Linked DNA regions of Homo sapiens: regions 2, 3, 4 and 5 are each linked to region 1. The links are contacts of gene promoters, found by promoter capture Hi-C in human tissues and cell types (Jung and others, 2019). All regions are on one chromosome and are shown on one strand. The core of a region is centred on a gene start or on the middle of the fragment in contact, and the rest is flanking DNA. Distances in the headings are between cores, read along the strand shown.

Region 1 (5,291 bases), core at 939-3,438:
TCTTTCTTCCCCTTCACAGCAACATTTCCTGAAAGAGAAATCACTCTTTCCATTACCTCACCTTTCATCCACTTATTAACCCACATCCTGGTAGCTCCCACCCCACTACTCCACTGAGACCGTTCCAGCAAGAGTGCCTTTGTTCTTAAAGCCACAAATTTCAACAGACACTTTTCAGGCCCATCTTTTAGGACCTCTTAATAAATCACAAACAGAGCAAAGCCGATTATTTCTTTTTTTTCTTTTTTTTTTGAGACGGAGTCTTGCTCTGTCGCCCAGGCTGGAGTGCAGTGGCGTGATCTCAGCTCACTGCAAGCTCTGCCTCCCGGGTTCACGCCATTCTCCTGCCTCAGCCTCCCGAGTAGCTGGGACTACAGGTGCCCGCCACGACGCCAGGCTAATTTTTTTGTATTTTTTAGTAGAGACGGAGTTTCACCGTGTTAGCCAGGATGGTCTCGATCTCCTGACCTTGTGATCCAACCGCCTCGGCCTCCCAAAGTGCTGGGATTACAGGCGTGAGCCACCCACTGGCTGATTTCTTTTCTTTTCTTTTTTTCTTTTTCTTTTTTTGGAGACAGAATCTCGTTCTGTCACCCAGGCTGGAGTGCAGTGGCACGATCTCGGCTCACTGCAACCTCCGCCTCCCGGGTTCAAGCGATTCTCCTGCCTCAGCCTCCGGAGTAGTAGCTGGGATTACAGGCGCAAGCCACCAAGCCTGGCTAATCTTTGTATTTTTAGTAGAGACGGGGTTTCGCCATGTTGGCCAGGCTGGTCTTGAACTCCTGACCTCAGGTGACCCACCTGCCTCGGCCTCTCAAAGCGCTGGGATTACAGGCGTAAGCCACAGCGCCCGGCCTTGATTTCTTTAAATAACATTTCCCCTTCCATCAGTTCCTTTCCTTCTTTTTTGTAAATACTTCCTAGGCTGCTCTCTGGTCTCTGGAGCCCAGTACAACCTTCTAAATATATAGTCTCTCCCTGCTAAAAACTTTTTAGGGTTCCCCTGTTATTCTTAAGATAAAGTCAAAATCCTCACAGACCTGCAAGAGTCTTCATTTCTTCATAATCTAGCCTAGAGATGGACAGAGGTAAGTCCATGCCCACCTCTCTACCTCTCACTTCTCTCTAGGTTTCAGAAACCCTGCTGTTTTCAGTTCCTAGAATACACTACCTTCCTTTTCGTCTCAGGAACTTTGCAAAAACAGCCCATTCCATCAGGAAAGCTCTTCCTCCGCATTACCTTTCTGCCCTTTAACTGGTCCAAGTATGAAAGCCACTTTCTCAAGAGGACCTCTCTAACTCCTTAGCCGGTCTCATCTTTCTGGTTAACAGTGTTTCCCAACAACCAGCTGCTCCCCATTGCACTTTTGGCAGTTATAATATGATCGGCTTCTTGAGGGCTGGAATCCTGGCCATCTTGCTCCCAAATGGCTCCCCAGTCAGTGCTCGATACATATTGAGAACGGATATGCATTTATCCCCCCTTACTCAGAACATACACTTCCCGCTCTGCAGGTACGTGCCCAAACCTGGTCCCGGATTCTCTCACCGCCTTTGGGGTGCGAGAGAGACCCCGCTCTGCTCCCGGGTGGGCGCTCCAGGGCTGAGACTGGAGGAACTAACCAGATGTGAATTCTGCATCTTCTCACTCCCAAAGACCCAAGCCGCGGCCGGGCGCGGTGGCTCACGCTTGTCATCCCAGCACTTTGAGAGGCCGAGGCGGGTGGATCACCTGAAGTCAGGAGTTCGAGACCAGCCTGGCCAACATGGTGAAACCCTGTCTCTACTAAAAATACAAAAATTAGCTAGGCTTGGTGGCGGGCGCCTATAATCCCAGCTACTCGGGAGGCTGAGGCAGGAGAATCGCTTGAACCCAGGAAGCGGAGGTTGCAGTGAGCCGAGATCGCGCCACCGCACTCCAGCCTGGGCGACAAGAGCAAAACTCCATCTTTAAAAAAAAAAAAAAAAAACACCCAAGCCTCAGTTTCCCCGAGATAAGGCCTGGGGCAAAGACCGCGGCCTGGAGACCTCAGGCCAAAAGGCGGGTCTCCCAGAAGACGGGGAAACCCACCACCCCACGCTGAGTTTTTACGCGCGCATTTTGAAAAACAGAAACAACAAAGGCGCTTTCAACTTACCCTCCGAAAGCGCCGCCACCTTTCTCCCAACCCGGAAGTGCTGCTGTTGAGGAAGCGGAAGTAGTAGTGCGTCGCCTTCCGGCCCCCTCGGCGTCACGCTGCCATGGTAACACGGCTGCCGCTAGGCCTTGGAGGCGCGCACATTTGCCTACCCATTTTCCTTCTGGGTCCTTTAGACGTCAGGTGGGGTAGAGAGTGCTCCTGAAACGAAGAAAGTAGGACAGAATCCCCCTCCATTGACGTACTAATGCATGCGTGCATTCCATTTATTCCAGTTTTTGGTGAACTCCAGGAACAACTTGGGAAGACAGATGACAAATCAACTAAGATAATTTCAGATTATCTTGTAAGGAAAATAAAACAGGGTGACGTGATGGAGAGTGACTAGGGGACGGTGGGTGCTACTTTAGATGTAAGAGAGGGCTCACTGAGGAGGTGACATTTGAACTGAGTTCTAAATGGAAAGGGCAGGCAAAAAATCTAGGCAGAAGAGTGTTCCAGGCTGGAAGTGAGTGCAAAAGTCCTGAACTTGGTTGCTGGAGGACCTGGGACAAGGCCAGAGCAGCTGGAGCACAGAGTGAATCCACACAGTGAACCCACAGGGTGACAGACAGGTCGCACACGCCCAGCCTAAGTGAATGCATGTGAATGCAGGGGAGGGGGTGGGAGAGGAAGTCAGAGGTCTGCAGGGGCTATCTGGTGCAGAGGCTGATGGATGTTAAGCTTGGATGAAGTCTCAGAAGTTTAGAGTTAGCAGGAGCTTTGGAGATCTATCCCAGTCTTCCCATTTCAACAGAGTCCTGAAGAGACTTAGCCAAAAGGGCAGCTTTAACCTGGCCATCAATTCGAGGCCATTATATTTACCAACCAAACGTTTAACCTTTTTGGATAGTGAACATATACGATATAGGCAACAAGTTTTCTCACTTAATCCTTGTAATGAGGTATTATTAGCCCCACCTTGTGGATGAGAAACCTGGGTTTACAGTAACTTGTCCAAGGTGACTTAAATGGGCCAGCCAGAAATCAGACCTATGCTCTTTCTACTACTCCACTATCTTGCCCCTCACTGTTCCACCTGACTTCTATGTGATCTGCCAAGTGGCTTTGATTAAAAAATGCACAAACTATGCTTCCGTGAAAGTCTGGAAGGGAAGCAGGTTGGAGAAACGATGAGCCTATGTATGTACTCATGTTGCCATGCAAGGGCTGCTCTGGGATGTGGACGTGCAGTTGGAGCTCCGTCTGGAGAAGTCTGTAAATGTGGTGTTGTCCACTGTTGATATGGAAGGCCTTGAAGTCCAGGTCCGTCATTGGTGTCACGTGTTCTGTGGTGACCCCACTTACCCAGAGCCTTGTGGTGCTAGTGATGCATGAATGAACCCACAAAAGGCTGGCACTAGAGGAGAGATTAGATATCATCCAGTATCGATTCAGGAAAACTCCAATAGTGGTTTCCAATCCTCCTCCAACTGCACCAATCACCTGGGAAGCTTTTTTTTTTTTTTTTCAAATGCAGAGTCTCAACTTTGCAATGGATTTTATATTAAACACTATTGTATCACATTAAAATCTTCGGACATGATAATGACATTGTAGTTACACATGGGAATGTCCTTGCTACATGATGACGTACTTAGGGTTAAATATGGTGTTGACAGATATTTTTCAGGTGATTCTGTAATGTGTGTATGTGCATGCTCACAGAGAGAGAGCAAGAAAATGTGACCAGTGCTGGGGACGGGTGAATCTGTTAGTCCAAACTGCACCATTTTGTAAGCCCCCTGCCATTTTGCAGACCTTGCTTAAAGTGAAACATTCCACGGGGGTTCAGGCAGTGAGAAACAGCCTGCCTCTTATCATATTCTGCTGGGAGAAAGTGACAGGAACATCACGTTCCACCAGAACAAGGGCCAAACTGCCTCATCATGGGAATACCTTATCAACATCTTCCCGGGCAGCAGGCCATACCCACCGGGCCCCTCCCCGCCCAGGCCTATAATTTCTCCAGCCTGTAAGCAGCGGTAGGCACTGGCATTAAGCTGGTCTCCCACCTCTGTAGGTCTCATGCTGGACATAAAGCCTGAATTTGCTGTAGAGCCGCCACTCTTTCTTTAACCCTCCCCTTCCCTTCAAAATCTAACCGAATCTAGGTGAAGCCTATATGTATTTTCATTGTATTCTTCTTTCGACTTTCAACTTTTCTGTAGGTTTGAACTTTTTCACCAAGTTGTGGGTGGGTGGGTAAGGGGATTTTTAAAAATGCAGCATCTGGCCTGGTGAGGTGGCTCATGTCATTATCAGAGCAAGACTCCGTCTCTTAAAAAAAAAAAAAAAAGGAGAGCCTCAGATGCCATTTCCAGATATTCTGATTTAGTGAGTCTGGGGTGAGTCCTGTGAATCTTCGTTTTTCTTTTTTTGGCACATGGTCTCATTCTGTCATCCAGACTGGAATGTAGTTGCCGAAACACGGCTCATTGTAGTCTCAACCTCCTCAAGTGATCCTCCTGCCTCAGCCTCCCCCATAGCTGGGACCACAGGTGTGTGCCAGCACACCTGGGTAATTTTTTTAATTTTTGGTAGAGATGAGACCTCACCATGTTGCCCATGCTGGTCTCAAACTCCTGGGCTCAGGCCATCCTCCCTCCTAGGCTTCCCAAAGCAATGGGATTACATGGGTGAGCAGCCAAGCCCAGCCCAAATCTGTATTTTTCAATTTCCCTTCATTCTGTTGCTTAAATTTGGGAACCATTGATGTAATCCAACTCTAGCGTTTCCTTGTCACCCATCTCACAGGAAAAAAAGAAAAAAAGCCCTTAGGATCCAAGAGGGTGACTTGCCCGAGTCCTCCCAGTGGGTCAGCATCAGCATCAGGCTTGGAATGCATTTAGTGCTCTGTCTCAGGTGTGTGTGTGGCGCAAAGAGCAGAGGTGGGGAGGGGTTGTGAGTGGAATGGGGGTGAGCAGAGGATGGAGTCTTCGACTTGGAAGACAAATGTAAATGACCCTCTATGAGCCACGCCGCTTTGAACGCAACCCACTGGAGATTCTCGGTTCTCCTGTATCGATTCAGGAAAACTCCAAACAAGTCCACACTGGTAGCCACCAAGAGTTTCTTGAAAGAAAAGTACAAGCCGAGCCGGGCTCTGTTGGC
Region 2 (5,291 bases), core at 2,024-4,523, 190 kb after region 1:
CTGCTACCGCTAAGGCAAAATAAAGAACCAGCATCTTACTGGAGTGACTGATACACTAATTGCCTACAGAAGCGGTGCGGGCTGCGGGAGCATCTTCCAGGCACCAGCGCTCAGGCAGTGCGCCCGTGCTCCCAGGCTGCCATCCACCCAACAGAGCAGAAGCCCACACCCACAAATGCAGCCTACACAACAGGCAGACACCCAGACACCACCGGGGCCACTTCTACAGCTCCTCCAGACCTGTCCCTTCACAAACACCGTGGGTCTGGGGTGGAGGAAGGCAACCACTGGTGCGTACATTGCGCCACTGAATAGGAACAGGAGGGCCCACGTGGTGGAAGAGGACGCCGTTCGAAAGCACCTTTTGGAGATGGGTCCTACGTGCCTTCAGTTATCATCACCACCTTTCCTGGCTATTTCATCATGTTAGTCAATGTCCTTTTGACCTGGGATGCAAAGCCAGCAGTCCACTCACTCAGAGGTTCCGGTGGTCAGCAAGCAGGCAGAGGGTGGCATTTTCTAGCCCAGACCTCTTCCTTAGGTGGGAGAAGCTCAGGCCAACCCTGCAGGGGTTTCACCTGCTGTCATGACAGCCACCTCAACAAAACCCATTCATCCCTTGGCCAGCTCCCTGTCTCCTTTTCCTTTGTTCCAAGGCCCAATGCTGAAAAGGCGAAGTACAGATGGGAAGATGAAATGCTCTAAACCCAAGCATGCGATGGGCACTCAATTTCTCCTTCTGCCAAGCTGCAGTGCTCCCAGGAACCTGCCAACTTTCTCGCCCTCCTTGCCCTCCAAATACCCGCACCCCTCTCCAATGGCCTTCCTGAGCATCCACCATAGTAATCCTGTAGTTACCAAGCAACAGATCAGTTTATCTAACCACAGGGAACTCCCTTGTAGTGAAGGCTGAATAAACCCCCCCTCAGTTACCAGGCTGGATTACTCAGCAAGACAGGCAGATGCCACTTGCACCACCAATAAGGTGAAATCACAGCCTAATTAGTAAATCAATATACCCCGTTACAATGACCACTGGAGAAGAGAGATCGCAGGGCCTTCTCCCAACTTTATCATTACATTCTCACAATGATCTTCCTAGGTAAAAACCCATTCTAATTCAGGCTTTTGCTAATGGCACTCTTTTATAGGACAGAAGTTTAAATTTTATTTATGTACCGTTAAGGCTATCAATAGTTTCTTCCATGTTTTATGGCTTTAGGGTCATGTTTGGGAAAGTCTTCATTCTAGGATTTCAAAAATATTAAAGTATATTTTCATCTAGCTTGCTACTGCTTTAATTCCATCTAAGTTTTATTTTGATTAATAGAAAAATGAACTGTTTCTTCCTAAGAGTTATCCAGTTATCCACAACGGTCACTGAACAGTAACTCTTTTCCCCAAGGTCTTGAAACGCTCCTCTAGAGCACTTCCTGCAGGCTCTGTGTGAAAAGCAGTGATGACCACAATGGCGCCCTTCATGGGCTCTACAAATAGATGAAAACATTGAAGCGAATACCAATTACATGGGTTGTTAATGGATTTAAATGTAAAACAGGTAAAATCAAAGCCATCCAAACCGACTACATGACATAGGCATTTAACTTACTCACTTTTCCAACCACCGCCTGAAACAGGTACTACTAGTATCCCCACTTCCTGGTAAGGAAACTGAGGCACAGAGAGATTAGGTCATTTGTCCAGGGCCAAAAATCAGTAATGCAAGAGCTGGAATTTGAACTCAGGAAATCTGACTTCACAGAGTTTAACCATAGCAGTCTGTCACCATGCTACAGTTTTCAAAACAAGGGGCAAGTTCCTGGCATAAAATGTTTTTAATATACATAAATCTGTATGCCTGTATGTATACGTGCAAAGTCTGAAGGATATAGGAAATGTATCAGGGTTAACCTGAATGTAGGCTTATGGTTAATTTTTGAGCTTTTCCCTATGTCCTGTAGTTTTACAATGAGCATGCATTATTTTTATAATTAGAAAATAACAGTATATTCACTCTAAGGGGAAACAAAAGCAAATGGTAGAATTTTGTCCTATAGTGAAATGCCAGAGTATTTTAATTTCTACTCATCAGAAACCTGTCTGCCTTTTGGCTTTGAGTTGGTTTGATTTTGCGAGGGTGTAGTACAATTAAAACATAGACAGACAGACAGACAGGGGTTCTTCAGAATGAGGACTAGTCAAGTGCACTCCTCTAATCTGAACGAGGCTGCTTATAAGCACATGTTCCAGGGCCACGGCTAGGCCCTGAAGGTCTCTGCTGACGACGCAAGTCCCCCACATGGGAAGAAAAGCCTGGGCTCTCAGTGAACGCAGGAGACCGTGAGGACTTCAGGTGGCCCGGGACTGACTATAAGTCTCTACACTTGTGCCTGACTCTATGGAGGACAAAAAGGCAGCAATGTCTGGGTAGGGTTTTGGTGGCTCTCAGGTCACAGTGAGGGTAACAGGCAACTCCAGGGGAATGTGACAAGCGGGCCCTCCGTATGCTTGTACACAGAGGAGCTGAGGGAAAGAATAAGCTGGTGTGGGATGTCATGACAACTTGACCTTGGCATGGGCCAACCCAAGGAGGATGCTACCCTACCTTTTATGGTCAGTGAGGAAAAGGAACTGTATCTAGACTCTTTCAACCTCTGGGTTCTGTTCTGGTAGAGAAGTATGCTGGCAGACCAGCTGTTTTAGGGATGCCTTCTTTGTGATTTCTTAGGATCCAATCAAGTCTAGCTTTTGTAAAACTACCAGAGCCCCAGAAGACACTCGGCTCCAGTTGAGTCCTGCTGTGGCAGTGGGAATCATGGGAATCACAGCAGCATTCCTAGGAGGGGTTCTGTGGACACAGAGGCTGGTGAAAAGTGGACTTCAGCTTTGTGCCAAAGATCAAGATCTAGTGAAGCTCAGAACTCCGAGCCCTGGGCCAAGGACAGGCACAGTGGCAGGCAGCACAGACCACAACTGAGAAAAACCGCGGATGGCCCGGCACACTTGCTGCCTGGAAGGCCATGCACATGATGGGAAAGAGGAGAGATCATATTTAGATATGGCCGATGTTTGAAAATGAAGGGCTTCACCAGAGCCCCAGAAATGGATGGGAACTTTGAGACTATTTAGCCCAGGTGACCAAAACTCTTAGGAAGTTCTGTCAGAACATAAGCAGGAACTTCAGATGGCAGGTGGCAGTGCTGGGGACGGGCAGAGGACCAGAATTTGATGACCTTGGTTGGAATCCCAGTTCTGCCACTCGCCTAGCTGATGACCTTGTAGAGTCACAGCAGCTTTCTCCAAGCTTCGTTTCCCGGTACATCAGAAAGGACCTATGCACAGGCACATGGCCAGTATGAAGGTAAAACAGCCTACAGTGCGTTAGAGAGCTCGGTACATTTTAATTCTGTGAAAGCCTTATGAATTACTGTTAAGATGGAGAATACAGGGTGAACATGGCAGCAGTGAGTTGTGCTTGGAACTGTTATGATTACACACTGAAAATACTGACTGAGAAGGACCAGCTTGAGGCAGAATCCCAGCCCCACACCCCAGAGCGCAGCCCTCTGGGCCTGTCCTGTTTGACACTGTGGGTGAACTGGATGAAATCATGAGGCATGTCTACCACATCTGCAGGAACAGCTAATACACTGGCTGACAAAATAACAACAGTCTAGGAGACCAAAGGGATGGGCCTACGCTGGCAAGGTGAGCTTGAACTGGGACAGATGTCAGGTCTTGCTGTTAGAAGGTAGGGTGGCATAACTGTCACATATGCAAATGGACAGGGATTCAGTTGGCAAGTTTCAACCTGAAACCAGAGGTCTGGGTTCGAATCGCGGCTCTGCCCAGTGGACAGTGGTGCCATCATGGGCAGTTTCCTCCTCTGTAAAACAGGGATAACATCATGATTGAAGTGAGGACCACAATGGCCATCCATCATGGGGGCCAGTGCCTGGCCACTGCTGAGCATCCATCAGTGGAGCCGCCATCCCTGCCATTATCATCCCCTGCACTAACAGACGTGATTGCCCCATACTTCTTGCTGGGCAGTTTCCATTGTAAGTCTGGATACTTTCACGAACCAGACTTTGAAAAGAACCTGGGCAGATAGGATGGGTGGAGCCGAGCCATCCAGAGGACAGGCTGCAACAGTACAGACCAAAATGCAGCTGGGCCTTCGTACAGCCTGAGACAGGCACACCAGAAACAAGCCCCTCTGAGCAGGGGTCCTGGCACAACCTCATACAGGCTGTAGAACTGATTCTGGAAGTTCGGCCAAGGTACTTATTTCTCTAAGTCCCACGTTATTCACTTACAACGATTAATGAGCTAACACTCTATTCAGCACACAGCCTGTTAGGAAAGTACTCAGTAAATGCTGACTAGTGTTATTATTAACAGCACGAAAAAGAGAAAAGGGGAGGAGACAGGAGTCATCCTCAGATATGTGGCATATTGTCATGTGAACTAAGGCCTGGTCTGATCAATAACATCACTTCTATGTTTGCAAATCATGTACACACAGCGTTTGAATCTCACAGAGGCCAAACAATGGAAATAAGACCAAAGGGTGGAAAATGAAAGTAGTGAATTCTGGCTCATTCTCAGAAGCTCTAATGGCAAGCCAGGTCCATGAATGGACAGCCCTGGGGGCTGCAAGGCACTGGGACGCCAGGGGTGCTGAAGCACAGGCCACAGCAACCATGGGAAGTGCAGTGGGACCCACAGGACCAGGTTGGGCCAGGCTGGGCAGACTCAGGGAAGACTCTATGTAGTTTCCATCTTTTATTTACAGATCAAAGAGAGGAAGTGAGACAGGGCAGACAGCTGTTTATCAAACACCCACTCTGAGATCAGCACTGAGCTAAGGCTGCACATTCCTTACCCTTCCCCACACCCTACACAACAACCCTACAGCACCTCCATTTTACAGCTAAGCTGCTGAGTTGGAATCAAACTCAGGAATGTTGGCTTCAAAACCCACGCTCCTAGCACTGTACCGTTCTGCTTCCAGACCTAGAGGAAACTGGAAAAAAAGTTAGATCCAAATCTTGCTTATAATCATCTCTTCTCAAAGTTGTTCCAATGATTTCCCCAAAGAATAGAAAACATCTACGACCCACTCTTGGAAGTTTGGCCAAGGTACTCATCTCTCTAAGTCCCAGTTTATTCACTTACAAAAGCTAATGTACTAAAAGCATTCACATGCTGCCCATTACGAAGATACTCTGACAGTTTCAAACCAAATTCTTCCACACACACTACCAAAACATCTCCTACTTTAAGGC
Region 3 (5,291 bases), core at 1,017-3,516, 170 kb before region 1:
ACTGCTCTATTAGTAACCTACCCTTGCGGTTCTCCGGTAAGTTTTGCACTGGAGTTGCAAAACTTACCAGTGGCCCTTCCCTCTCTGGGCAACTGGAGGGGACACTGACCCTTCCTGGCTCCAAAGAGCTGTGACTCTGGCAGGTGGCAGGCACTCAGTGGCAGAGGCCACTGAGCATCTGTCTGGGGCTGGTGTGTGGGGGGGTCCCCCTCCATAGCTCCTTTCCAGAAAGGTGGAGGAGCAGCCTATCCCTCCTCCTGCAGGGGCCCAGTTGGGGGCCAAAAGATCGCCTTGCTGCGTGCATTTGTGCAAGTCCCTTCCCGTTCCTGGGCCTCAGCTTCCTCATTCATCAAATTGGGAGGCAGATCAGATCAAAGGTTTTCAGCTCTTTTTTGTGGCTGAAGCTTTTCTTCAAATGCTTTACCAGCCCAGGTCCAGCTATAAAGCTGCTCTTCACCCCTGGTGGGCACCCAGTCTGCTTTCTTCCAAGTTCTACTCAAGGACTGGCTTTTGGGTAGAGAAGGAAGTCCATCAGGGCCCTGGGCCTGGGCAAAGACCAAAGCCATGACCGCCAACCAAAACGCACCAGCCTGGAATGGTTGCCCCTGTCGTCAGTAGAGGCCAGGTCTCGGCCTCAGGGGCTGTCCCCCAACCCTGCCCAGCCAGGCCCCTTGGGACACCATCACCCATCCCCCACCCAGCAGGAGGCTCTGGCTGCCCAGAGGAGGGGCTCCTGCAAAGCTGGAGCTGTCGGTCTGAATTCTGGCGGCAGCCTTCAGATAATTCCATCAACTCTAAGTGATCAAAGCCGCTGACGTCACAGGGGGCCAGCTGCAGGGACAGGGCAGGGCCTTTGGATCCAATTAGAGGTGCCCACACCCTGGCACCCTCCTCCTCTCCCTGGCTCTCCCTGCCTCCACCCCGAGAGCCAGCACTGAGCTGCAAGGTTTCTCAGGGTGGACGATATTCACCCTCTCCCACAGAGCCCCAAGGCAACCAACTGGGCCCACCCCGGGAGCAGGAATAGGCTGTTCCTCCACTCCCCTGCAAAGGAGCTATGGAGGGGGGCCACCCCACAACACAGCAGCCCCAGACATGCTCAGTGGCCTCTGCTGAGTTTCTGCCACCTGTCGGAGTCATAGCTCTTTGGAGATGGGAAGGACAGCGACCCCTCTAGTTGCCCAGAGAGGGGAAGGGGCTGACCCAGGCCACACCAGTGCCAGGGCGGGGAAGGTGGGGCTGGGACGTGTTTGATCCCAAGGAAGGAAGCCAGAGTCTTCTCTCCAGGCCTGGCCACCCTGGGAAGTCCCCACCTGCCGTCCAGCCGCGGGCTCACGTGGACCCAGTGTGGGGAGCATCCCCTGGGGAGTGTGGAGATGCTCCCTGCGAGGCCGGGAGAGTGGGGGTCCGAGAAGACGGCGCCCACACGTAGCCCTGACCGCGCGCCCGTGCCCGTGTCCGTCCAGAGTGTAACTGCAACCAGATAGGCTCCGTGCACGACCGGTGCAACGAGACCGGCTTCTGCGAGTGCCGCGAGGGCGCGGCGGGCCCCAAGTGCGACGACTGCCTCCCCACGCACTACTGGCGCCAGGGCTGCTACCGTGAGTGCGCGCCGTCCCCCGTGGGCGGGGCCTGCGGAAAGGGGACGGGGCAGGACCGAGGCAGTGGGCGGGGCCTAGTGGGACGGGGCAGGGGCGGTGGACTGGGCCTAGCAAGACGGGGCAGGGCCGGGGAAGTGGGTGGGGCCTAGTGGGACGGGGAAGAGGCGGTGGGCGGGGCCTCGCGAGACGGGGCAGGGCCGGGGCAGTGGGTGGGGCCTAGTGAGAGCGGGGCAGGGTTGGGATAGTTGGCAGGGGCCTGGTGAGATGGGGCCGACCCGGGGGCGGTGGACGGGGCCTAGCGAGACGGAGCTGGCAGGTGGGCGGGGACAGGATGCTGCTGAGGTCCGGGGCCGGGCCGAGGGGCGGGTCCAAGAGCTCGGGGCGGGGCCTGATGCGACCTGAGGCACGGTGGTGCCTGGTGGGAACTACGAGAAAGACCGAGCTGGGGTTGGTTGGAAAGGTATTTGCGGGGACAGAGGGAGGGAGGCTGTCCAAGTCGGCGTTAGCCGCGGGCACAGGGTGAAAGGAGGCTCCAGGCGCGTGGAACAGCACGTGCACAGCTCTGGAGACTGCAGGCGCGTCTGAAGAACAGCACCGAGGCCAGTGGGGCGGGGAGAGAGGGGCAGCGGTGGGAGGCAGCCGGGGGCCAGATCTCGCCCGGGCGCCGTCACCCTCCGAGGGGGGACGTTTCGCACCCAGCGCGCCTGGAGCCTCCTACATCCCCGGCCCAGACGGCGCCCCCGGGATCTCGCACACCCTGCTTCGCAGGAGCTCGGAGGTTGGCGGGGGGACCGGGCCACCCCCCGTGCTGACCGCCCCCTCCGCCTGCAGCCAACGTGTGCGACGACGACCAGCTGCTGTGCCAGAACGGAGGCACCTGCCTGCAGAACCAGCGCTGCGCCTGCCCGCGCGGCTACACCGGCGTGCGCTGCGAGCAGCCCCGCTGCGACCCCGCCGACGATGACGGCGGTCTGGACTGCGACCGCGCGCCCGGGGCCGCCCCGCGCCCCGCCACCCTGCTCGGCTGCCTGCTGCTGCTGGGGCTGGCCGCCCGCCTGGGCCGCTGAGCCCCGCCCGGAGGACGCTCCCCGCACCCGGAGGCCGGGGGTCCCGGGGTCCCGGGGCGGGGCCGGCGTCCGAGGCCGGGCGGTGAGAAGGGTGCGGCCCGAGGTGCTCCCAGGTGCTACTCAGCAGGGCCCCCCGCCCGGCCCGCGCTCCCGCCCGCACTGCCCTCCCCCCGCAGCAGGGGCGCCTTGGGACTCCGGTCCCCGCGCCTGCGATTTGGTTTCGTTTTTCTTTTGTATTATCCGCCGCCCAGTTCCTTTTTTGTCTTTCTCTCTCTCTCTTTTTTTTTTTTTTTTTCTGGCGGTGAGCCAGAGGGTCGGGAGAAACGCTGCTCGCCCCACACCCCGTCCTGCCTCCCACCACACTTACACACACGGGACTGTGGCCGACACCCCCTGGCCTGTGCCAGGCTCACGGGCGGCGGCGGACCCCGACCTCCAGTTGCCTACAATTCCAGTCGCTGACTTGGTCCTGTTTTCTATTCTTTATTTTTCCTGCAACCCACCAGACCCCAGGCCTCACCGGAGGCCCGGTGACCACGGAACTCACCGTCTGGGGGAGGAGGAGAGAAGGAAGGGGTGGGGGGCCTGGAAACTTCGTTCTGTAGAGAACTATTTTTGTTTGTATTCACTGTCCCCTGCAAGGGGGACGGGGCGGGAGCACTGGTCACCGCGGGGGCCGATGGTGGAGAATCCGAGGAGTAAAGAGTTTGCTCACTGCTGCCTCCACGGCCTGTTTTCTTTCTGTGTTGGGGACGGTGGGCAGGTGTGGGGCTTACAGAGGAATCCACAACACAGCCTTAAAGAAACGGTTTCCCTACTGGGGCCACCATTTCCCTGGGCCTTTCTGTGGATTCCAGCAGGCAGTGCCCCCTCCCCGCAGGCTTGGCTGGCAGAGTTTTCCACCCCGCGGCCAGGCTGCAGGTGCCCCACCTGTTAGGAGCCTCCCCACACTGAAAGGCTGCCTCCCTCCTTTCCCAAAAAAGAAATCCGGAGTGTATTGGCCCTTTTCTACAGAAGTCCAAGGGAAATGACTCAGGGAGAATCCTAGCAGAGGTTGAATCCAATGCTCTGATTTATACTGTGTCTCGGTGGCCACCTCCGATGGATGTGTCATCTCAGACCTGTTGCAGCCGGAGCCTCAAGTCCAATATCAGATGAAGCTGAACCCACAATTCGGCCACCGCCTCCTTCCAGAGTTTCAGATGGCCAGGTGGGCAGAGGCGGGCAGTGCAGAGACCCCAGACGTGCCGGCCCTGTCCTCCCTACCTTCTCAAGATTAGGAAGGGGTGCTGGAGGGGACAGGGGCAGCTTGGGAGTGGTGAGGAAGCTCCTAGATTCGGGGCTCATCCCCTGGGGCCTCTGATTCAGAGGATCCAGCAGTTCTCCCATCTCCGCTTGGTGTCTCCAGCCCTGGGGCCACACTTCCCCCTCGGTCCAGCCTCCTGTCCACCTATGTTTATTTCAGAGCAGTGCCGGGGGTCCGGTCCTGGTTGCTAACTGCTGCCACTGCTCCACCTGCAGGTGCTCCCAGCACTGGCTTCTGCCACCACACCTGTTCTTTCCCAGCTGCGAGGTTTAGACCTGGGTCCTTCCCTTGAGTCCCCAAAGCTAAGCTAAGACCAAGTGGAACAAACTTGGCCTTGGGGACAGCAGGAGATTACAACACAGAAAAGGAGGGGGAGGCACAACGGGACACTGCATAGGACTCACAGTGTCCCGAGCCCACACACCAGCCCCTCCTGGCCTCCTCTCTCTGCTCCCACCCCCAGCACCCTGCTGACCCGGAAGTGCCTTCCGACAGGCCCTGCATCCTCCTGCAGCTGGCCCATCTCTACCCTCACATTCTTCCTTACGCACAGAACCCCACTGCCTGGGACCCAAAGTGCCCAGATAAAATAAAACACCTCTCTGGGGCTTCTTGTGGATAGGAGTGGCCAGGGGACACAGCTCTGGGCAGTGAGATGTAAGCAGGACTGATGGGTGGGCTTCCAGAAAGTTCTTAAAAGTCATCCCTTCCTCCACGCCCCACAAAGCCTCAGTTGTCCAAGTTTGTGGCTCTGGTTTTTCTCTCTCATCCCTCCCTCTGCTCTTCAGTCAGCAGGATGGGGAAGGAGCCTTCTTGAGACACTGAGCATAACAGTGTCACCCTCAGGATAGTGAAGGGTGGAGCCGGGGGTGGAAGTTGCAGAGCCTGGGACACCTGCCTTGGCTGCAACCTCTGCACTGCTTTTATTTATCTACTTATTTTTATAGAGTTGAGGTCTCACTATGTTGCCCAGGCTGGTCTCAAACTCCTAGGCTCAAGTGAGCCTCCGGCCTTGGCCTCCCGAAGTGCTGAGATTACAGGCATGAGCCACCGCACCACCTGCCTGTCTTACTGTGTGAGAAAAAAAATAAACGGTGATGTGATTAAAACACTAGAATTTGGGTTTTCTGTTCCATGCACACTTTCCAAGTTCTTGGCCCTGCCTGATTGGCATCCGGGCCCCCTGAGCCCTCTAAGGCCAGAGAGAGACTGAAACCCACCCTTCCTTGGCCGCAGCCCCCCATGGTGACCCTCAAGTCACCAGGAAGAGGAATGTCCATGACTCAGGCCGAGGAGTCCACCTCTGTCCAGAACAGG
Region 4 (5,291 bases), core at 1,904-4,403, 150 kb before region 1:
CATCCTCCCGTGTGACAACCACAGATGTCTCTACATATTGTCAAATGTCCCCCTGAGGGGGCAGAATTGCCCAACTAAGAACCACATTAGACAGGGCACAGTGGCTCACGCCTGTAATCCTAGCACTTTGGGATGCCCAGGTGGGCGGATCACTTGGGGTCAGGAGTTCAAGACCAGCCTGGTCAACATGGTGAAACCCCGTCTCTACTAAAAATACAAAAATTAGCCGGGCGTGGTGGCAGCCGCCTGTAATCCTAGCTGTTCAGGAGGCTGAGGCAGGAGAATTGCTTGAACCTGGGAGGCGGAACCTGGGAGTAACCTGGGAATTGCTTGAACACGCCACTGCACTCCAGCCTGGGCAACAGAGCGAGACTCCGTCTCAAACAAACAAAAAGAACCACATTAGAGCCATATGAATCCTCATGGATAAATCTTAAAACATAGTGCTGGGTGGAAAATCTATATCACAGAAAGGTGGATGCAGTATAACACTTTTCATATGAGGGCTAAAAACACACCAAGAAAACATGATGGCTGCGCACATATGTAGTGAGGTCTCAGGCTCATGTCACTTCTGCAAAGGGAGAGAGGGACAGAGCATGCCACAGGGCTCCAACTGTATCTATAGTTCTTCATTTATTTCCTTAAAAAGTAAAAGATCTAAGGTAAAGAAACAGGAATGGTGGGTACAGGGTGTTCCTTATACTATTATTATCCTACTCTGTATGCGTGAAATAGCTCCCTTTAAAAAAATAACAGGAGGCCGAGATCGCGCCACTGCACTCCAGCCTGGGCGACAGACGAAGACGCCATCTCAAAAAACAAACAAAACAAACAAAGAAACAAACAGCTGCCTCAAAAACAGAAAAGATGACGAGAAGGAGAGGTCTTAGAACGCATCCTTATCTGAAGGACAGGATACAGTCTTGTTTTAGGAAACTCCAGCTGCTCTGTGTCATTGAAAGGGAAGAGGAGAGACCAGATGGTCCAAGTTCACCAAGGCACTGGGAAGGACCTGAGACTGACTGCAGGCCCTTCATGAAAGCAAAGCCTGGGTGTGTTATAACCGCCAGTCCCACTCTCCCACAGTGAGGTCCATCCCGGCAGGGGCTGAGTCCACCTTGACCACTGAGACAAACAGACCTCGTGATGGACTCAGTGTTTTTAAATTGTGGAGCTTGGACAGGGAGGGGCGAGATGGAGAACGAGGTATACACAAAAGAGAACAATGTGATGAGGGCATGAAGTGTGCTTACCAACCTTCCCTCACCCAGAGGCTGGAAGAGATTTTAGAGCTTAACAGAAAAAGAGTGGGAAAAGGACACTGCTGGGCAAAAGACATGAACTAAAGACTTCTCGGCTGTCCCCATCAGTGGCACGGTGGTCTCAGCAGTACCGATGTGGATACTCAAGAACGTGAGGCTACCGTGGAAATGCTTTGCTTAAACCACACGTGAGTTTCCAAGGAGTGAAGATCCCCAGGGAAAGCATCTAGGACCCTGCCGTGTTGGCCCAGCTCTGGGAAGTCAATCGACGTGGACCCCTTACTGTGTTAACTGCTAATCAGCCTTCTGTAAAAATGATATTGCAAATTCACCTGTAGCCGTCTATTTTGTTCTCTTGCTGGTGAGGAATAGGAACTGATGTAAATTGGTGAAGGTTTACTGGAGCCTGTAAGAAAATATTTTATGAAATTAAAAAAAAAAAAACACAAGAGGCCTGGTGTGGTGGCTCACGCCTGTAATCCTAGCACTTTGGGAGGCCGAGGTGGGTGGATCACGAGGTCAGGAACTCGAGACCAGGCTAATCAACATGGTGAAACCCTGTCTCTACTAAAAATACAAAAATTAGCCGGGCGTGGTGGCCCGTGCCTGTAATCCCAGTTACTCGGGAGGCTGAGGCAGGAGAATCGCTTGAACCTGGGAGGTGGAGGTTGCAGTGAGCCGAGATCGCGCCACTGCATTCCAGCTTGGGCGACAGAGCGAGACTCGGTCTCAACATAAAAAAATAAATAACAAGAAACATCACCTGTCTGCGGAAGGCGTACTGTGCTCTGGCCCTGGGAGCCGGCTAAGGGATGTGGGGCCAGGGTCAGAGTGTGGCAGATGGGCCTCTTCAGACAGGGACCAGCTTCCCCAGGGAGGCCTCCTAGCTGAGCCTGGTAAAAGGATGAAGAACATTCTAGGGGGCCAGGCTGGAGAGCCCAGGAATTGCAGACAGAAGTGAGCCAGGCAGGGGCACTCCACATGTGTGTGGGTGCGAGTGTATAATAAATAATGGCTGCAGGGTGAGCCCCAGTTCTGCTAAGGCAGGAGGCAGGGGAATGACTCTTACGGCTTCAGGGGTCTGAAGAGGGGCAGGGGGATGGGAGGCTGGTGATCCTAGTTCAGCAGTGGCAAAGCCGGTGTCTGAGGGAGCCTGGTGGGGGGGTGACCCTGGGTTTCTGCCTCCAGCCCTTTGAGAAGCATGGGCTTTGCGTGTCCTGTCTCTTGGGGTCACACGTGGGAGTTACTGAAGTGAAGGCCCAGGCACATCCGCCTAACAGGGGCGGGGCAGCTGCAGTCCCGCCCACGGCCACCGGGGGCGGTGTGTATGGTTCTCCGCACAAGCCGAGGAGCTGAAGAGCACGGGGAGGATGAAATCTTGCCCGCTCTGCTCTGGCCGTCTGGGTGCAGCTGCGTCCTCCTGGAGGCAGGAAGGGGCACCAGGCGGGCTAGCGTGCCACAGACCCACAGGTGAATGGGCCCACAGCCCAAGTCCTCACCAATGCTCTCCTAAGCAAAGGGAAAGTATCCAGGGAACCTCGGGGTGTTGTTAGGGTTAATGTTTACGAAAGGCTTCGAAGAGGGGCCGGGCGCGGTGGCTCACACCTGTAATCCCAGCACTTTGGGAGGCCGAGGCAGGCGGATCACCTGAGGTCAGCAGTTCGAGACCAGCCTGGCCAACATGGTGAAACCCCGTCTCTACTAAAAATACAAAAATTAGCCGGGCATGGTGGTGGGAATCCGTAATCTCAGCTACTAGGGAGCCTGAGGCAGGAGAATCACCTGAACCCGGGAGGCGGAGGTTGCAGTGAGCCGAGATTGCACCACTGCACTCCAGCCTGGGTGACAGAGCAAAACTCCGTCTCAAAAAAACAAACACCAAACAAACAAAACACCACAAGAATACCAAGGGCTGCATCCCCAAACCAGTAAATCAGTAATGCTAGGATGGATCCCAGGCAATCAGAATTTTTTTTTTTTTTTTTTTTTTTTTTTTTGGTTGTTGTTGTTTGGGACAGTCTTGCTCTGTCACCCAGGATGGAGTGCAGTGGCACAATCTCTACTCACTGCAACCTCCGCCTCCTGGGTTCAAGCGACTCTCCTGCCTCAGACTCCCAAGTAGCTGGGATTACAGGCGCCCACCACCACACCCGGTTATTTTGTGTTTTTAGTAGAGACGGGGTTTCACCATGTTGGCCAGGCTGGTCTCGAACTCCTGACCTCGGGTGATCCGCCAGCCTCGGCCTCCCAAAGTGCTGGGATTACAGGGATGATCTGCCGCACCCGACCTCAGAATTTTTTTTAAAAGCCCCCAAGTGAGCCCAATGTGCTCCCTAAGGTTAAAAACTCAAGGCTGAAAACTACCAATCTGACAATTCTGTTGCAATGCTGCTTGAAAACAAAGATAACTGTGTCTACTGAGCTGACAGGACAGCAACAGAGTTCCTCCTCCTGCAGTTTCAAACACCCAAACTACGAATATGCCATTTCTGCCATTTGACTTGGCAAATGCCTTCTGTGTAGTAGGACAGGGTGACGATAACTCACGTCTTTGGAGTCATGGAGGGATCCCTTGTGTACAGAAACTGCCTTTGTGGTGCTGTACAACATTATCAATTCTATTTGAGCTGAGGCTAAATTTTAGTTTCGTCCCTCAATTATTTATTCCTCAATGAATGGTGAAACCCAGGAGGTGGGGGCGATTGTGGGGGCGGATGGGTCAGGAAAGAGATGTCTGGTGACTTCAAAAACCATCACTAAGGCTGCTGCATAACCAATTCCACAAATGACCACCATGCAGCACTCATCTCTCGCCAGGCCATTGGGCAAATTTATTACTCCCCCTAAGTCCCAAACACACCATTTTACCCTCCCTGGTAATTTGTGTATGCATACTGAACAAGCCAAGCAGGCCAAGTGGGCTGTGTGCACACACTTCTGGGTACAGAAGGAGACACAGAGGCGGAGGTCAAGTGCCTTTTAACAGGCACAAGTGTGGGGAAGCTGACTACATTTCCTGAAGTTTATTGTTTTATAAAGTGTGTTCCACTTCCATAACCATCAGCAATTACCCCTGGCAAGGGCAATTCTACCCTGTCCCTCCACCAGTGCTTCTGGCAGCTCCTTTCACGGGTCACTGTTCATCTGTTCCTCCTATCTCACCTCCACCCCAATTCCAGCCTAATGATCAGCACATATTTCTGTTGGACCAAACTTCAGTCTGTAACTAAACAGCACAGCTGGCCTCAATGCACCTCATTACTGTACAGAGAAGATTCCAAAAGGAGCTAGGAAGGAGGGCCGGGCTGGATAATGAAACTTTTTATATCTGAATTGCACAAATCCCCACCAAGTAATTTCAGCATAAAGCAAACCAAATGGCAGACGAAATGATGTTAGTACCTTGTAGTTTACTTCATAATACATAACCTCTAATCCATGTCCATCTTCTTGTTTCTGCTTTTAATTCTGCCATTTCCTCTTAAAATTTAGGGTTTAACAAAGACAACAGGGCTGTTTGCCAAATCGCAGCTATTAATTCACAGCATAGAAAAGTCAAAGCTATAGCAAAAAATTGCTAATCTGCACAACTTTAAAAAATAGTTCAGTACATTTTTGTTATAAAATTCATTTACAGGAGGTTATTCACATGTACTTGTCAAATTTACTCCTGATAATTCACAAAAACATACAACTCAACAAACTGTGCACAATAAATCCAAGGCAAATTATATACAAAGAAACAAAACAAGCTTTTAAGTAGCACATATTCATTTGAAATAACTAATATTGAAAGAAGACAGGGAACTTTCTTTTAATGCCATGGCAAAGACGAAGCGAAGAGCCACACTTCACACCTTGTAAAAAGAATAGCCCTGTTCAACAACGCTGCGCTGACAGCCACATCAGGAGGGGCCACGGTGAACATAGGAAATGGCTTTGGCAAATACTTGTACCAACTGGAACGAGTGAAGTTTCAAAAGTAATGTGAGGTACAACTGCATTCCGCTGTGAAAGGCCGTCACA
Region 5 (5,291 bases), core at 1,542-4,041, 130 kb before region 1:
GTTCTTTAATTCCTTTCAACAACGTTTTGCAGTTTTCAGCGTACAAGTCTTATACTTCTTTGGTTCTATTTATTCCGAAGTGTTTTATTCTTTTTGATGCTATTGTAAATGGAATTGTTTCAACTTCCTTTTCAGATTGTTCATTGCTAGTTGCATCAAAATATAATCAACTTTCACATATTAATCTTGTATCCTGCTAAGCTTATTATCTCTAATAGTGCCTTTGAATGGCTTTGTTAGGGTTTCTAGAAATAAGATCATGCCACCTATGAAGAGAGAGTTTTACTTTTTTCTTTCCAGTAAAGATGCTTTTTATTTATTTTCCTTACTTAACTGCTCTGGCTAAAACCTCTAGTACAATGTTGAAAAAAAGCATTAAGAGTTTCAAACATCTCTCCTGATCTTAGAGGAAAGGCTTTCATTCTTACCATGAAGTATAACGTTAGCTATGAGTTTTTTGTAAATGCCTTTTATTAATAAAAAAAGTTCCTTTGTATTCTTTTTTTTTTTTTAAATCATCAAAGCATTTTGGGTTCCGTGCAACTTTTTTTTGTATCTACTGAGCTGATTATGTGGGTCTCCTCATTCTTCTAATATGGTATATCATATTGATTTTCATATGTTGAAGCAATCTTGCATTCCTGGGATAAATCCCACTTGGTCTTGATGTATAAATCCTTGTAATAACCTGCTGAATTCAGTTTGTCACTATTTTGTTGAGGATTTTTGTATCTAGTCATAAAGGATTTGGATCTGTAGTTTTCTTGTGATACTTTCCCTTGGCTTTGGTATCAGTGTAATACTGGCTTCAAAAAATGAATCTGAGTGTTCTATTTATTGGAAGCATGTGAGAATGACTTGTGTTCATTCTTCTTTTAATATTTGATAGAATTCACCAGCTTAGCTTGGTTCTGGGCTTTTCATTATTGGGAAATGTTTCATTATTTGTTATAAAGGTCTGATTTTTTCTTTTTTTTTTTTTTTTGAGATGGAGTCTCGCTCTGTCACCCAGGCTGGAGTGATGCAGTGGGGCAATCTCAGCTCACTGCAGCCTCCGCCTCCTGGGTTCAAGCGATTTACCTACCTCAGCCTTCCGAGTAGCAGGGACTACGGGAGCGCGCCACCACGCCTGGCTAATTTTTGTATTTTTTTTCAGTAGAGATGGGGTTTCACCATGTTGCCCAGGCTGGTCTCAACCTCCTGACCTCAGGTGATCTGCCCGCCTCAGCCTCCCAAAGTGCTGGGATTACAGGTGTGAGCCACCACACCCAGCCTACAGGTCTGATTTTCTATTGTTTTCTAGATTCGATTTTGGTAGTCTGTGTGCTTCTAAGTTAAGATGATTTTAAGGTTATGGATCTCCAATATTTAATCTTTAATTTTACTGCTGAGGTAAGAAGGAAACAAAAACATGATTTTCATTCTATACATAAAGGCAATACAAGGGTTAAATCATTTATTTAAAGTGAAATGTTACTTTTAGTCTTGCTAGAACAAGAATTCAGATGAACAAGTCATGGAACTAAAAGGTAAAGACCTGGCAAGTTTCTTAGTCAATTCCACTGCCAAGGAGAATGTTGACATTCCAACTGCCAGGAAGTAACCTGTCTACCCAGGAGCCACACAGCACAAGTCTATGAAAGCCAGCAGCATCCCAGCTTCCTCGTGCCGTATCACCAATTTGCACAGACCACTCCTTAAGAGTTTCCCTTTTCTTCTTTCCTTCTATATCCTCTCATTCTAATTCAACAAGAAAATTGGAAATATTTATAAAAATGCCTCACCCTTTTCTATCGAACTCTTTGTCCAAATCCTTCTGAATCATCGTCTTCTGGGCCTTGTAATGAGTTATTATGCCAATGTTTCGAAAACTAACATCCTTTCTTTTGTCTTTAATAAGCTTAATTATTTCCATCACCAGTTTTATTTCTTGAACATTTATATATGAGCTAAACAAGATGGAAAAAGAAAACACAGTGTTATCAAAACTAATAGCAGGCTAATTGCTAACTTAAGTTCCACTGAGTTTGTTTCCCATTATAGTAAAGGGCAGGCAGATAGGCTTCATCTTTTATTCAGCTAGCAGTGACTCCAAGAGGCTGTTACAATGACCATTAATATGGTATATATGAATAAATGTGAAAATACTATGGTAAATATGAATACATGTGAAATGCCCAGTGAAAAATGAAGTTGTAGAGAGAAAAGAGTTTGAAATCAACTGAAGTTTAGGCACCACTTTCTTCATCTGTTGAAACAGGGAGAGCAGTATTAAGAACAGCAGTATTAATAAGAACAAAGATGTGAATAAGAGATAGCTAACATGAATTAAGGATTAACTATCTTCCGAACACTGAGAAAATGCTTTACATGTATGATCTTCCTTGTCCCTCACCACTGGCTGCATACAACACACACCACACAACCGAGCAGCTGCCATCCACACAGACTCAATGTGAAGGATGTGTCCCACTTGACCCCAGTTGAACAACATGGGGCCCTGGAGCAGGTTCATGTCCTCTTTGTAGTCCTCAGCAGCCTCATATCCTGCACTCTCAACCCCTCCTGAAAACACATGCTCCCTCATGACCATACCGGACCCAAAATGCACCAAGACCAGGGGATGCACTGCCCCATCCCTTGATTCCTGAGGCTACCTTACCCGCCTTGCTTTACGAGCCTTAAATACCCATTCTCCTAACTTTGAGACTTACTAAATGGACAACCCAATCAGCTAGCGATCTCTTCCATCCCTGAAATCCTCATGATGCTCTGCGGCTTAACTCGCAATCCTCTGCTCTCCTCCAAGAGGCCTCATTAAAACCTTTAGGCTGCAGTCCCTCCAGCACTACAATCCCATGGCCAACAACTCCTCTGTATGTGTAACCTCTTCAATGAGTGTTCCCTACTTCCACCTCTGTATCTTATCTAACGCCTGATTCTCGCCTGAGGACGCCACCTGCTCTGCAGCCATCCCATGATGTAGAAGTGGGATTTGTGTTTCCTCCTACTTCATGACAGAGTGGCACTTGTATCCGTGCCAACAAATGCTGCCCCTAGACCATTCCTCCCCTACTCTCTCACAAGAATCCCCAGCTCCTCTGACATTGCTGCTTCTAGCAACACCACTCCTCTTTGCTGTCATATACAGACCACCTGAACACATGCCCTTATTCACAACCCAATACCATCCAACCTCTGTCACTACTTCCTTCCTCCCTTTCACATTTTCATTCAACTGAATTTATACTTAGCCTTCACAGTACTTAACCCAACTGGAATAACTGCTTACCCAGGTGATGACCTGCTGAAGGCCTGTCTTCCCATGAGACCACCATCTTGCAATGGGCACGTCTGTTTCCCTCACTGCTGTGAGCTCAACAAGTATCTACTCAAGCACTTGCTTATGACATTAGGTAATATTATCCCCATTATACAGAAAAAAGAAGCATCAACTTAAGTGAACATGACTGTGCCCTGACACTAGGCAGAGAGATGTGTATAGGAAATGTATTTAACAGAAATATGAATGCAAATCATGTAACAATTCTGGGACTATCAGAGGACTGAGGCAAGAGGAAAACATACTCATTATCCCGTCTTTCTGAACCATCTCCAACATCAAACACAAGGTATGGCTGAAATGGCCAATCTGATGAACATCGAATGGCTTCTGTCTGTCTGTAAAAAAAAAAAAGCAGTCAACATTCAGAATAAAGTCAAGATTTAAGAAAATATCTTGGTATTACTACAATTTTTTCTGTGTGGTGATGTGGGCTGGGGCAAGTAAGGGGATAGCAGGAATATTCTTTTCTAGACGTGTATTAGTGAAAGGTACAAAACAAATTCTATTTCTTTCCTGGTGCTGGGAGAGGTGTCTATATCATTAAAATATAACAAGTATGATTGGAAAGACACTCATAATAGAGTAAGCCACAGAATACTATGTTAAGTATGGTCCCACATTTTTCCTTCAAAAATTTAAAAAGTAAAAAAAGATATGCATAGTAAAAGGACTGAAACTTGGCCAGGTGCGGTGACTCTCGCCTGTAATCCCAGCACTTTGGGAGACCAAGGCGGGTGGATTGCTTGAGCTCAGGAGTTCGAAAGCAGCCTGGGCAACATAGCGAAACCCCGTTTCTACAAAAAGAAAAATACAAAAATTAGCCAGGCATGGTGGTGACTGAGTGTAGTCCCAGCTACTCAGGAGGCTGAGGCAGGTGGATTGATTGAGCCTGGGAGGTCGAAGCTGCAGTGAGCCAGGACTGTGTGCCACTGCACTCATCCTGTGTGAGTGACAGAATGAGACCCTGTCTTCAAAAAAAAAAAAAAAAAAAAAAAGGACTGCTGAAAGTGGATATACCAAAATGTTACCAGTGATTATTTCTGGGTAGTATAAATATAGGTGACTTTTTCCCCTTTTCTTTTTTATGTGCTTTGCTGTATTCAACATGATGGCTATTATAACAGGACAAAATTATTAACCCTTCATGATTTATGCTTTTTATGACAAGACCTAAGACGACAGTAAAATGTCTATTCTTCATAAGTAGCTAAACTACAACAAAATAAGGTCACAAACAATAAGGGGAACTCACCTATTTGTTTTTAAGTTTCTGTTATAAACATAATTAGAAGGGAAGAGGCATATGTCTGGATGCATCCTGTACTGAACAGTGAGCTGTAGAATGGGCAGCCTGCTGATCATGTTGTGTTCTACATTCTCTTCCAGCAGTCTGCAGAAGCGAGCCATCATTGACTGGTCGTAGCCATACTCCTGTGCTTTCTGTGAGGGGCAAAATAAAGCAACAGTTTCCAAGAATTCATTTATATCTTTCCCACTATTATAAACACAATTACTGAGATCTAATACGTATATGGCAACGTTCAGGTAGCATAAGATTACCAACCACAGCTTCAGAGAAAAAAGGTGTTTCTGACTCTGAGCCTCAAAATGCCATGAATCTTTTTTTTTTTTTTTTTTTTTTTTTTTTTTTTTTGGAGACACAGTCTCGCTCTGTCACCCAGGCTGGAGTGCAGTGGCGTGATCTCAGCTCACTGCATCCTTCACCTCCCAGGTTCAAGCGATTCTCATGTCTCTGGCCTCCTGAGTAGCTGGGATAACAGGAATGAGCCACCACACCTGGCCAAAATGCCATGAATCTTGAATATATGTGGAGGTCTTTTCTACTCATATACTGCTAATGAAAGAGATATGATCTTGTGAAAGACAACTGATGCTATTTTGATGCTACAAGACGCCACCCAAAAAAACCAGTAATAAAGGAAAT

What was found. The method cuts DNA at HindIII sites, captures the fragments that hold promoters and counts their contacts. A contact is called where the count stands out against the background at its distance.
Region 2: a fragment that was not itself captured here is called in contact with the fragment with the promoter of TTF1 in region 1 in 2 of the 25 tissues and cell types used here (spleen and thymus).
Region 3: a fragment that was not itself captured here is called in contact with the fragment with the promoter of TTF1 in region 1 in 1 of the 25 tissues and cell types used here (lymphoblastoid cells).
Region 4: a contact is called between a fragment that was not itself captured here and the fragment with the promoter of TTF1 in region 1, in 1 of the 25 tissues and cell types used here (lymphoblastoid cells).
Region 5: a fragment that was not itself captured here is called in contact with the fragment with the promoter of TTF1 in region 1 in 2 of the 25 tissues and cell types used here (bladder and heart right ventricle).

Annotation. Positions count from the first base shown.
Region 1 is chr9:132,404,652-132,409,942 of GRCh38, forward strand. TTF1 (transcription termination factor 1) reads right to left here and starts at 2,189. Exons shown (of 11, transcript NM_007344.4): 1 at 2,139-2,189. The HindIII fragment of the contact is 7,318 bases long and covers 1-3,246 here.
Region 2 is chr9:132,597,564-132,602,854 of GRCh38, forward strand. The region is part of intron 19 of DDX31 (DEAD-box helicase 31); the gene reads right to left. Among named protein-coding and RNA genes, the nearest start is that of BARHL1, 18 kb to the left of the region's middle. The HindIII fragment of the contact is 4,533 bases long and covers 1,008-5,291 here.
Region 3 is chr9:132,239,444-132,244,734 of GRCh38, forward strand. It overlaps NTNG2 (netrin G2), which reads left to right. Exons shown (of 8, transcript NM_032536.4): 7 at 1,467-1,601; 8 at 2,433-5,083. The coding sequence ends at 2,668. Among named protein-coding and RNA genes, the nearest start is that of NTNG2, 80 kb to the left of the region's middle. RefSeq lists an enhancer at 281-798 and silencers at 1,587-2,076, 2,227-2,276, 2,747-2,816. The HindIII fragment of the contact is 6,383 bases long and covers 1-5,291 here.
Region 4 is chr9:132,256,785-132,262,075 of GRCh38, forward strand. SETX (senataxin) reads right to left here. Exons shown (of 26, transcript NM_015046.7): 26 at 4,572-5,291. Among named protein-coding and RNA genes, the nearest start is that of SETX, 96 kb to the right of the region's middle. The HindIII fragment of the contact is 4,266 bases long and covers 1,021-5,286 here.
Region 5 is chr9:132,273,472-132,278,762 of GRCh38, forward strand. SETX (senataxin) reads right to left here. Exons shown (of 26, transcript NM_015046.7): 21 at 4,599-4,786; 22 at 3,589-3,681; 23 at 1,785-1,949. Among named protein-coding and RNA genes, the nearest start is that of SETX, 79 kb to the right of the region's middle. The HindIII fragment of the contact is 3,482 bases long and covers 1,051-4,532 here.